2 separate regions of the Homo sapiens genome follow, and region 2 is linked to region 1. The links are contacts of gene promoters, found by promoter capture Hi-C in blood cells and fetal thymus (Javierre and others, 2016). All regions are on one chromosome and are shown on one strand. The core of a region is centred on a gene start or on the middle of the fragment in contact, and the rest is flanking DNA. Distances in the headings are between cores, read along the strand shown.

The links. The method cuts DNA at HindIII sites, captures the fragments that hold promoters and counts their contacts. A CHiCAGO score of 5 or more calls a contact.
Region 2: a fragment that was not itself captured here is called in contact with the fragment with the promoter of POMK in region 1 in 2 of 17 cell types (M1 macrophages and M2 macrophages); the score reaches 7.3 in M1 macrophages.

What each region holds. Positions count from the first base shown.
Region 1 is chr8:43,091,542-43,097,315 of GRCh38, reverse strand. It overlaps POMK (protein O-mannose kinase), which reads right to left and starts at 3,801. Exons shown (of 5, transcript NM_032237.5): 1 at 3,753-3,801. RefSeq lists a silencer at 3,564-3,773 and enhancers at 3,025-3,930, 3,931-4,837. The HindIII fragment of the contact is 4,326 bases long and covers 1,518-5,774 here.
Region 2 is chr8:43,702,504-43,708,705 of GRCh38, reverse strand. No RefSeq gene overlaps it. Among named protein-coding and RNA genes, the nearest start is that of POTEA, 410 kb to the right of the region's middle. The HindIII fragment of the contact is 6,220 bases long and covers 1,252-6,202 here.

The DNA of each region.
Region 1 (5,774 bases), core at 2,552-5,051:
CAAACTGTGCTCCCCAGACCTGTGGCGTCATAGCCCAGGAACCTGGGAGAAATGCAAATTCTTGGGTCCACACTCCAAACCTACTGAATCAGAAATGAACATCTGTGTTTTAATAAATCCTCTAGGTGATTTGGATGCATGCTAAAGTCTGAAAACCACTGGTGTATATAATTCCTATACATGCTGTCTATCTATCTAATCGATCTTATCTATTTACCTACCTACTTATCTATCTACTTAAGACATGGAGTCTCACTATGTTGCCCAGGCTAGACTCAAGTGATCCTCCTGCCTCCACCTCCCAAGCAGCTGGGACTGACTACAGGGATGGGTTACCAAACTCCGCTTCTCATACATGCTTATTTTCACAAGTATGTGCCCATAAATCATACATATGTTTTCAAGCTTTATACAAACAGTGATGGGCTGGTATTATCCTCCTGCAACCAGTTTTTTTTAAAAGCTCAACATTACATTTCTGAGATTTATCCATGCAGATGCACAAAACTCAGTTCACTATTTTCAACTGGTTTGACTTTTCCACAATTAGTGAGACAAGCTGTGTATACATCTCCCCAGGCATACATGGAAGTTTCTCTGATACATGCAGGGAGAGCTTTCTTTTTTTTCTTTTTTCTTTTTTTGAGAAGGAGTCTCACTCTGTCACCAGGCTGGAGTGCTATAGCACAATCTCAGCTCACTGCAACCTCTGACTCCCTTGTTAAAGGGATTCTCCTGCCTCAGCCTCCTGAGTAGCTGGGATTACAGAGCTGGGATTACAGGCACGTGCCACCATGCCCAGCTAATTTTAGTATTTTAATAGAGACGGAGTTTCACTATGTTGGCCAGATGGTCTCAATCTCCTGACCTCGTGATCCGCCCACCTTGGCTTCCCAAAGTGCTGGGATTACAGGCATGAGCCACCATGTCCGGCCCATGCAGGGAGAGCTTTCTAAAGCACGGATCTGATCCCACCTTGCTTAACATTCAACAGCCCCCCACTCGGCCCACAGGATCAAGTCCAAACTCTTATGTGGCCTCCTGAAATCTAGCCCCTATCTGCTTCCCTAAACCCTCCCTGCACCACACTCTCTGGCCCCTGAGCTTTCCTCAAAGGCTCCCTTTCTGGGATACCCAGGCCCCGGCTTCCTCTAGATTCTGAGCACCAAGAAGCCTGCCTGCCTGTCCTGTTCACCACTGCACCCCAGTGCCTGGCACACAGCGGGTACTCGGCAAAGACGCACCAACTGCCTGGTCACTCTGCACCTCTCCCTCTTCATGGCCTCAGCCGCACAGGCTGCTTTCCCTCTCCTGTGTTCGCTCCACGGAATCCGCTCTTCCTCTCCTCACGGCTCCTGTCTTCTGAGGACCCTCATCTGCCACCTCCTTCTCCAATCCAAGTTTCCCAGCTCAAACCCTGCGATAAATCCTTTCAACCCTCCAACCCTCCTTACCCCTAACCTCCCACCAATCCTTCCTTGCCACTAGTGGATTCAGGTTTTATGGGGCCTGAAGCTTATACAAGTTGGGGCAAGGAGTGGTAATTCCTTAAGAGAAGAATAGTTATGAATGTAAAAGTGCTGAGCCTCTTGCCAGAGTTTTGGCAAGAGGATTTGTGCAAGGTTTTGGAAGGTATTTGTGCAAGTGAAGAGGCTAGAGGCTTCATCATAAACCCAGATCTGCTTGTCATTCACCAGACCCATGTAACTTGCCCTGTCCACTTCTTCATTTCCACTCAAAGGCTGCCAACATCAGCTACAAAACTCTGTGGGACTCTAGAAATGCATATTTTCTAATCTCTCTTGGACCCTCAGCATTACTCAGAAAACCTTTAATGCATTTCTTGCTGAATCCAAATTTCATATGCCCCAAAAACCTTTTATATATCCCTAAGTCCTCACATTCACTTCTGAATCCTCTCTCGGCAAAAACAAACCAAACCAAACCAAAACAAAACAAATAAAAAAAATACCCCAAAATTCATTTGACTTTTATACACTGTCAACTTCACACCAATTCTGTGAAGTGGATGTAATTGTTGTTATTCCCATTTCACAGATAAGACAACTGAGTCAGAGGTGAAGTAATATATCTAAGGTCACTGAACTATACACAGAAGAGCCAAGTTTTCTGGCCTCAAGCCCATTCTTCCCCTAAATACCGCAATGCTCGGGAGTTGAACTAAATCAAACCCAGCGTGGTCAGCTAGGGGCTGGGCTGGGGTACCCTGGGACTGCCGGTTTCTTAAAGAAGACTTCAGCCCACCTCAACCCCGATTTGCTTTTTTGTTTCACAGGCATATTCTGGAGTAGGCCGCCCAGAGCATAGCATGAGGCTGTGTGGCTAAAGGAACTTTCGTGTCCAGAAGTAAGCAAAAACCACTGAAATTTACTGGTCCTGAAAACAGCCTGCACATTAAGGAATAAAGATGGTGGGGCAGGTTGGGCAGAAGAAATTCAGGCACGACTGAAATGCAAAGCATTTCTGACACTGATAGGAAGGCTTATTGATAGAGAAAGGCTTGGGACCCACTGCTCCACATTTACAGCTTAAAAAGAAAAGAAAAGCAAAGGGACAAAACTAGTTTTTACCGACTTACAAGATATTTTCTACAACTAGGGAAGACACAGAGTAATGTCATCCAATACAGTTTAGAGTAGAATTCCATTGCGCCAATAAAGCACAAGGTACATTAAGAGGATTATTTTAAATATTCTGAACGCTTATTTAGCCTTAAGGTTCTATAGCAAAGGCAAAGGGTGGCAAAGACAAGATTATGCAACAAAACAGCGAAATTTTGCTTTCTAAAAAAAAGAGAATATGATTACACTTAACACCTCCTGGCAACAATGATCTCGTGCAGAATAAACACCCAAAGGCAAAGAGCTGAGACAGAGTCCTCGGTCCTTTCTGGTTTTTTTGTTTTTTGTTTTGTTTTGGTTTGGTTTGGTTTTTGTTTTTTTAAACAGAGACAGCCTCTGCCGGACCCAGTAGCTCACGCCTGTAATCCCAGCACTTTGGGAGGCAGAGGCGGGCGGATCACCTGAGGTCAGGCGTTCGAGACCAGCCTGACCAACATGGGGAAACCCCGTTTCTACTAAAAATACAAAAATTAGCCGGGCGTGGTGGCGGACGCCTGTAATCCCAGGAGCCAAGACCGCGCCACTACACTCCAGCCTGGGCGACAGAGCGAGACTCCGTCTCAAATAATAATAATAATGATAAAGTAATAATAATAGAAACAGCCTCTCACTCTGGCCCCCAGGCTGAAGTGCAGTGGCGCGATTTCGGCTCACTGAAACCTCCGCCCCCGCCGGGTTCAAGCATTCTCCCGCCTCAGCCTCCGGAGTAGATAAGACTATAGGCGGCGCCACCGCGCCCGGCTAAGTGCTTTTTTACGGAGACAGAAGTTCCGCCATGTTGCCCAGGCTGCTCTCGCCTGAGCTCACGCGATCCTCCCGCCTCGGCCTCCCAAAGCGCTGGGATTACAGGCTGGAGCCACCTCGCCGGGCCCTTCTCTGGTTCTTTAACGTCCCGCTACCGCGCAGGGGTGGACGCGGAGATAGGGGCTGGGCGCGGTGGACACGGCCGCTCAGGCCCAGCGCAGCCTCCTAGGGAGCCTCCGGACAGGCCGCGGGCAGGCGGCCGGGGCTGCGGGGGGTGCGGCCCAGGCCACGTACAGGGTCCCCCGGGAAACCCAGCTGCACGCCCCCTCGCCCCTTCGCCCTCTCACCCCTCGCCGCAGCACCTACCTGCAGCCCAAGCCTCTGCGGCTCCTGCCACCCCGGGCCAGCACGCACTGGGCCTACTGCGCTTGCGCGTTCGGAAGCGCGTCCTGGGCGGGTGAGCGTGGCGCTGCTGCCCCCTGGCGTCCTCCTCCGGCCGTGCACTGAAGCCGGAGCGAACGCCGCGGCGGTACCAGCGCGCACCTACCCAGTCTCCCTGTCTGGCTTCTGCTTCCCTAACTTGGGAGAACGATTTTGTGTTGACCGACTATTGCTTCAGCCTGGAGCCAGGCTCATGCAGAGCAGCTGTCAGATCTAGACGCACTGCGAGGCCTTCCAAAGCGTAGTCCTCAGACCCGCGGCATCTGCAGGGACCTTGCTGGAAAGGCTGATTCCCAGCTCCGGCCCAGACCCGCCACTCGGGGACCCAGATGCCTGAAGTTGGACAATCGCTCTGTAAAAGAAACTGTGGGGCTTAGCCTAGACGCAGTAAAGCTGAGCTGCACACATCAAGCGCAGCAGACAAGACCTTGGCAAGCCTCCGCGGAGGGGCAGGACTGGGCAAAGGCGGGGAAGTCCGTCGAGGGCCGGCCAGGAGCCCTGCCGGGAGCCCAACACGCACTCGGGCGCTTGCTCCGGGAAACCGAAAGGGAGGCTTGCAGCATCGAAGTCAGCTGGGTCATGGAACGTCTAGGTTGTGTACATCGGAAGCGTTAGCTGCTTCTACACTGACACACTGCGAAAGTCCAGAATCAAGACAGTAACATGGTGTGGGTTAAAAAAACTGAGCCGGTACTAGCTATCCAAACAGTATTAAAATTAACAGAAACGTTTGCCTATCACATGGACAAACAGCGGTAATACCTCCTGTCGTTACAGTAGAGTCTGAAAGTTTCCTCACACATACAAGTGAGTGTAAATTGGAATTCCTCCTACGTGCCCTAGCAAATCCATTTCTAGGAATTTATCCTTCAGAAATAACGTCTGTGGCCGGGCGCCGTGGCTCATGCCTGTAATCCCAGGACTTTGGGAGGCCGAGGTGGGCGGATCACGAGGTCAGGAGACCGAGACCATCCTGGATAACACGGTGAAACCCCGTCTCTACTAAAAATACAAAAAATTAGCCGGGCATGGTGGCGGGCGTGAGAATGGCGTGAACCCGGGAGGCGGAGCTTGCAGTGAGCCGAGATCGCGCCACTGTACTCCAGCCTGGGTGACAGAGCGAGACTCCGTCTCAAAAAAAAAAAAAAAAAAAAAGAAAAAGAAATAATATGTCTGCAAGATGTATGCACAAGAGATCTTGCTGAAGCATTGCTGATAAAAGATATTTATAATAGAGAAAAAAAGAAACCTGAATGTATAACAATAGGGGTTTCTGAAAGAAATTATATTACATCCACATAGCCATGAAAAATACTAACGGGTGCACAGTTTCAGTGTGAGAAGATGGTAAAGTCCTGGAGATGGATGGGGGTGATGGTTGCACAACAGTGTGAATATACACCAATAAATTGGGTGGAGGCCGAGAGCTCGGGGCCGTGAGCAAGCCTCCAACGCTCCGGTCCCCCGGACCCGCCTTTTAAACTCTTATTCTAATTCCTTTGTCTTCGCTGGACTCGGGGTACCCGCCGGGTGGTGTGGGGCTGGTTTCCCCAACAACTTCACTCTAGCCTGGGCAAAAGAGCAAAGCTCCGTCTCAAACAAACAAAGATAGAAACCAACCAGCAGCTCTCCTTGCTGAGTTCTTTGCCACGTGGCCACCATTTTGTGCCCACAGGCTTTTTGGGGGTGCTGGGAAAAGGTGAAATTTTAACACTGATGAAAAATTAGAGGAATTAAATTCAAACAAAAAATTAAAAATAAAAAGAACAGCAGAATTTGACGCACCATCAAACTGGTTGTGTCACCCATCTTCAAGCTGAAGGTAGTCCAAAGCCTGGAACTGAGTGTCGGGGGCACACACAGAGACTCGGGAGAAACCCTCTGATTCTGGCTCGTGGAGCAGAAAAGGAAACTCCTAACCCTCAGAGGGAGTGAAGAAAATTCCCT
Region 2 (6,202 bases), core at 3,112-5,611, 610 kb before region 1:
CTACAAAGAGACTTAGACTCCCACACAATAATAATGGGAGACTTTAACACCCCACTGTTAATATTAGACAGATCAATGAGACAGAAAGTTAACAAGGATACCCAGGAATTGAACTCAGCTCTGCACCAAGCAGACCTAATAAACATCTACAGAACTCTCCATCCCAAATCAACAGAATATACATTTTTTCAGCACCACACCACACCTATTCCAAAATTGACCACATAGTTGGAAGTAAAGCTCTCCTCAGCAAATGTAAAAGATCAGAAATTATAACAAACTGTCTATCAGACCACAGTGCAATCAAACTAGAACTCAGGATTAAGAAACTCACTCAAAACCGCTCAACTACATGGAAACTGAACAACCTGCTCCTGAATGACTACTGGGTACATAACGAAATGAAGGCAGAAATAAAGATGTTCTTTGAAACCAATGAGAACAAAGACACAACATACCAGAAACTCTGGGACACATTCAAAGCAGTGTGTAGAGGGAAATTTAGAGCACTACAAGCCAACAAGAGAAAGCAGGAAAGATCTAAATATGACACCCTAACATCACAATTAAAGAATGAGAAAAGCAAGAGCAAATGCATTCAAAAGCTAGCAGAAGGCAAGAAATAACTAAGATCAGAGCAGAACTGAAGGAAATAGAGACACAAAAAACTCTTCAAAAAGTACATGAATCCAGGAGCTGGTTTTTTGAAAGGATCAACAAAATTGATAGACCACTAGCAAGACTAATAAAGAAGAAAAGAGAGAAGAATCAAATAGATGCAATAAAAAATGATAAAGGGGATATCACCAAAGATCTCACAGAAATACAGACTACCAACAGAGAATACTATAAACACCTCTATGCAAACAAACTAGAAAATCTAGAAGAAATGGATAAATTCCTCAAAACATACATCCTCCCAAGACTAAACCAGGAAGAAGTTGAATCTCTGCATAGACCAATAACAGGCTCTGAAATTCAGGCAATATTCAGTACCTTACTGACCAAAAAAAGTCCAGGACAAAGTTTCAAAGAAGAGCTGGTACCATTCCCTCTGAAAATATTCCAATCAATAGAAAAAGAGGGAATCCTCCCTAACTCATTTTATGAGGCCAGATTCATCCTGATACCAAAGCCTGGCAGAGACACAACCAAAAAAGAGAATTTTAGACCAATATCCTTCATAAACATTGGTGCAAAAATCCTCAATAAAATACTGGCAAACCAAATCCAGCAGCACATCAAAAAGCTTATCCACCATGATCAAGTCGGCTTAATCCCTGGGATGCAAGTCTGGTTCGACATACACATATCAATAAATGTAATCCAGCATATAAACAGAACCAAAGACAAAAACCACATGATTATCTCAATAGGTGCAGAAAAGGCCTTTGACAAAATTCAACAACACTTCATGCTAAAAACTCTCAATAAATTAGGTATTGATGGGACGTATCTCAAAATAATAAGAGCTATCTATGGCAAACCCACAGCCAATATCATACTGAATGGGCAAAAACTGGAAGCATTCCATTTAAAAACGGGCACAAGACAGGGATGCCCTCTCTCACCACTCCTATTCAACATAGTGTTGCAAGTTCTGGCCAGGGAAATCAGGCAGGAGAAGGAAATAAAGGGTATTCAATTAGGAAAAGAGGAAGTCAAATTGTCCCTCTTTGCAGATGACATGATTGTATATCTAGTAAACCCCATTGTCTCAGCCCAAAATCTCCTCAAGCTGATAAGCAACTTCAGCAACGTCTCAGGATACAAAATCAATATGCAAAAATCACAAGCATTCTCATACACCAATAACAGACAAACAGAGAGCCAAATCATGAGTTAACTCCCATTCACAATTGCTTCAAAGAGAATAAAATACCTAGGAATCCAACTTACAAGGGATGTGAAGGACCTCTTCAAGGAGATCTATAAACCACTGCTCAAGGAAATAAAAGAGGATACAAACAAATGGAAGAATATTCCATGCTCATGGGTAGGAAGAATCAATGTCGTGAAAATGGCCATACTGCCCAAGATAATTTATAGATTCAATGCCATCCCCATCAAGCTACCAATGACTTTCTTCACAGAATTGGAAAAAACTACTTTAAAGTTCATATGGAACCAAAAAAGAGCCCGCATTGCCAAGTCAATCCTAAGCCAAAAGAATAAAACTGGAGACATCACGCTACTTGACTTCAAACTATACTACAAGGCTACAGTAACCAAAACAGCATGGTACTGGTACCAAAATGGAGATATAGACCAAAAGAACAGAACAGAGCCCTCAGAATTAATGCTGCATAATTACAGAAATCTGAAACTGGATCCTTTCCTTACACCTTACACAAAAATTAATTCAAGATAGATTAAAGACTTACATGTTATACCTAAAACCATAAAAACCCTAGAAGAAAACCGAGGCAATACCATTCAGAACATAGGCATGGGCAAGGACTTCATTTCTAAATCACCAAAAGCAATGGCAACCAAAGCCAAAATTGACAAATGGGATCTAATTAAACTAAAGAGCTTCTGCACAGCAAAAGAAACTACTATCAGAGTGAACAGGCAACCTACAGAATGGGAGAAAAGTTTTGCAATCTACTCACCCGACAAAGGGCTAATATCCAGAATCTACAATGATCTCAAACAAATTTACAAGAAAAAAACAAACAACCCCATCAAAAAGTGGGCAAAGGATATGAACAGACACTTCTCAAAAGAAGACATTTATGCAGACTAAAAACACATGAAAAAATGTTAACCATCACTGGCCATCAGAGAAATGCAAATCAAAACCACAATGAGATACCTTCTTACACCAGGTAGAATGGCAATCATTAGAAAGTCAGGAAACAACAGGTGCTGGAGAGGATGTGGAGAAATAGGAACACTTTTACACTGTTGGTGGTACTGTAAACTAGTTCAACCATTGTGGAAGTCAGTGTGGCAATTCCTCAGGGATCTAGAACTAGAAATACCATTTGACCCAGCCATCCCATTACTGGGGATATACTCAAAGGATTACAAATCATGCTGCTATAAAGACACATGCACACGTATGTTTATAGTGGCACTATTCCCAATAGCAAAGACTTGGAACCAACCTAAATGTCCAACAACGATAGACTGGATTAAGAAAATGTGACACATATACACCATGGAATACTATGCAGCCATAAAAAATGATGAGTTCATGTTCTTTGTAGAGACATGGATGAAACTGGAAACCATCATTCTCAGCTAACTATCACAAGGACAAAAAACCAAACACTGCGTTTTCTCACTCATAGGTGGGAATTGACCAATGAGAACACATGGACACAGGAAGGGGAACATCACACACTGGTGACTGTTGTGGGGTGGGGGGAGCAGTGAGGGATAGCATTAGGAGATATACCTAATGCTAAATGACGAGTTAATTGGTGCAGCACACCAACATGGCACATGTATACATATGTAACCAACCTGCATATTGTGCACATGTACCCTAAATCCTAAAGTATAATAATAATAAAATTTTAAAAAAATACATTAACAGATTTCCTAATATTGAAGGATTCTTTCATTCTGGAATGAGTCTTGTTGATCATGTTGTTTGTTTAATATGCTATTGGTTATTTTATTTAAAAATTTTCCATTCTTAATCATAAGTAAAATTGGTCTGAAGTTTTTTTGTTGAAAAATTATATATTTTTTGTAAATTGTATTTTCCTAGAACATCAAGTCTAAGTGTGGTCCTAGGATCCCCTCTTCCTGAGATCCTCTTAAGGGGTTAAGATTAAATTTATTTTCATGAAAAAAACTACTACTTTGAATTCATGGTTAGACAGCTTACATATAGCCATATCAATGGGGTCAGTTACTGGTTTTTTGCTTTGCCCATTTGGAGAGATTATGGTTTCCTGTTTGCTGTTGTTTCTTGTGCATATATGTCTACATCTTTCTATTAAAGAATTTATTCTTGACAAAAAAAGAGGTTTCCAACCTGTTGAATCAAAATAAAGCTGTATCTCTGTGAGATAAATTCACTCATCACAAACCAGTTTCAGAGATAGCTTCTCCCGAGTTACTATCTGGGGATAGTCAATTTTTCACAATAGGCCTCAAAGGGCTCCCAAATGCCCCTTCACAAATTACACAATAAGAGTGTTTACAAACTGCTCAATCAAAAGAAATGTTTAATTCTGTGAGATGAATCAACATATGGCAAACCAGTTTCACAGATAACTTATTTCTTGTTTTTATCTTGGGATGTTTGAATTTTCACCTTAGGCCTCAATGGCTTCCCAAATGTCCCTTTGCAAATTGTCTAAAAAGAGTGTTTCAAACCTGCTAATTTAAAGTAAGTCTTACCTCTGTGAGATGAATTCACACATTACAAACCAGTTTCACAGATTGCTTATTTCTAGTTTTTATCTGGGGATATTCTGTTTTTCATCTTAGATTTCAAGGGGCTCCAAAATATCCCTTCTCATTTACTACAGAAAGGGTGTTTCCAATCTGTTGAAAGAAATAAAGGTTTACTTCTGTGAGATGAATCCACGCATCACAAAGCAGTTTCAAAGATAGCTTCTTTCTATTTTTTATCTGGGGATATTCTGTTTTTCACCATAGGCCTCAATGGGCTCACAAATGCCCCTTTGCAGATTCTATAAGAAGAGTGTTTCCAACCTGCTAATCAAAAGTGACATTTAACTCTGTGAGATAAATCCACACATCACAAATCAGTTTCACAGACAGCTTTCCTTCAGTTTTTATCTGTAAATATTTGTTTTTTTACCATAGGCTTCAAAGGCTCCTAAATGTCTATTCGCAGATTTTACAAAAAAAAAAAGTGTTTCCAAATTACTGAATCAAAAGAAATTTTTAACTTGGTGAGAGAATCCACACATCACAAAGCAGTATACAGATAGCTTCTTTCTAGTTTTTTTCTGAAGATATTTGGTTTTTCATGATAGGCCTCAATAGGCTCCCAAGTTTACCTTCATGGAGCCTAAAAAAAGAGTGTTTCCAAACTGCTGAATCAAAAGAAAGGTGTAATACTATGGGATAAATCCACACATCACAAAGAAGTTCGACAGATAGTTTCTTTCTAGTTTTCAACTATGGATACTCGGTATTTCACCATAGGCCTCAGTGGAATTCTAAATGTCCCTTTGCAGATTCTAAAATAAGCGTGTTTCCAACATGCTAATCAGAAGAAGTTTTAACTCTGTGATTTCCACACACCACAAGGCAGTTTCACAGATAGCTTCTTTTCAGTTTTTACCTAAGGACATTCTATTTTTTAACTATAGGCATCAATGGGCTTCTAAATGTCCCTTCGCATTTACTACAAAAGCAGTGTTTTCAATTTGTTGAATCAAAATAAAGTTTAAATCTGTGAGTTGAATACTCACGTCAGAAAGCAGTTTCACAGATAGCTTATTTCTAGTTTTTTCTTGGGGATATTCGGTTTTTAACCATAGGCCTCAACGGGCTCCCAAATATTTCTTCACAGATTGTACAAATAGTGTTTCCAACGTGCTAAATAAAAAAAAGGATCTACACTGTGAGATGATACAAAACAAACCAGTTTCACAGATAGTCTCTTTCTAGTTTTTATCTTGGGATATTCGGATTTTCACCATAGGCCTCAAAGTACTCCCAAATGTCCCTTCACACATTCTGCAAAAAGGGTGTTTCCAACCTGCTCAATCATAGGAAAAGTTTAAAGCTGTGAAATGAATCCACACATCCAAAAGCAGTTTTACAAGCAGCTTGCTTCTATTTTTTTCTGGGGATATTCAGTTTTTCACCGTAAGCCTCAAGGGGCACCCAAATATCTTTTTGCAGGTTCTACAAAATGATATTTCCAACCTGCTCAATTAGAAGAATGGTTTAACTCTGTGGCATAATTCCACACATCACAAAGCAGTTTTACAGATGGGCTTCTTTCTAGCTTTTTTCTGGGGATATTCAATTTTTCACCATAGGCCCCAAAGGGCTCCCAAATGTCCCTTCGCATTTACTGCAAAAACAGTGTTTCCAACTTGTTACTTGTTGAATCAACATGAAGGTTTAACTCTGTGAGATGAATCCACTCATCAGAAGGCAGTATCCTAGATAGTTTCTTTGGGAAAGAGAGTTTCTGGGCTGCCAGATGAGATGGTCTCCCCTGTGTGAGACACCTATGTGAGAGACCATGGGTGGT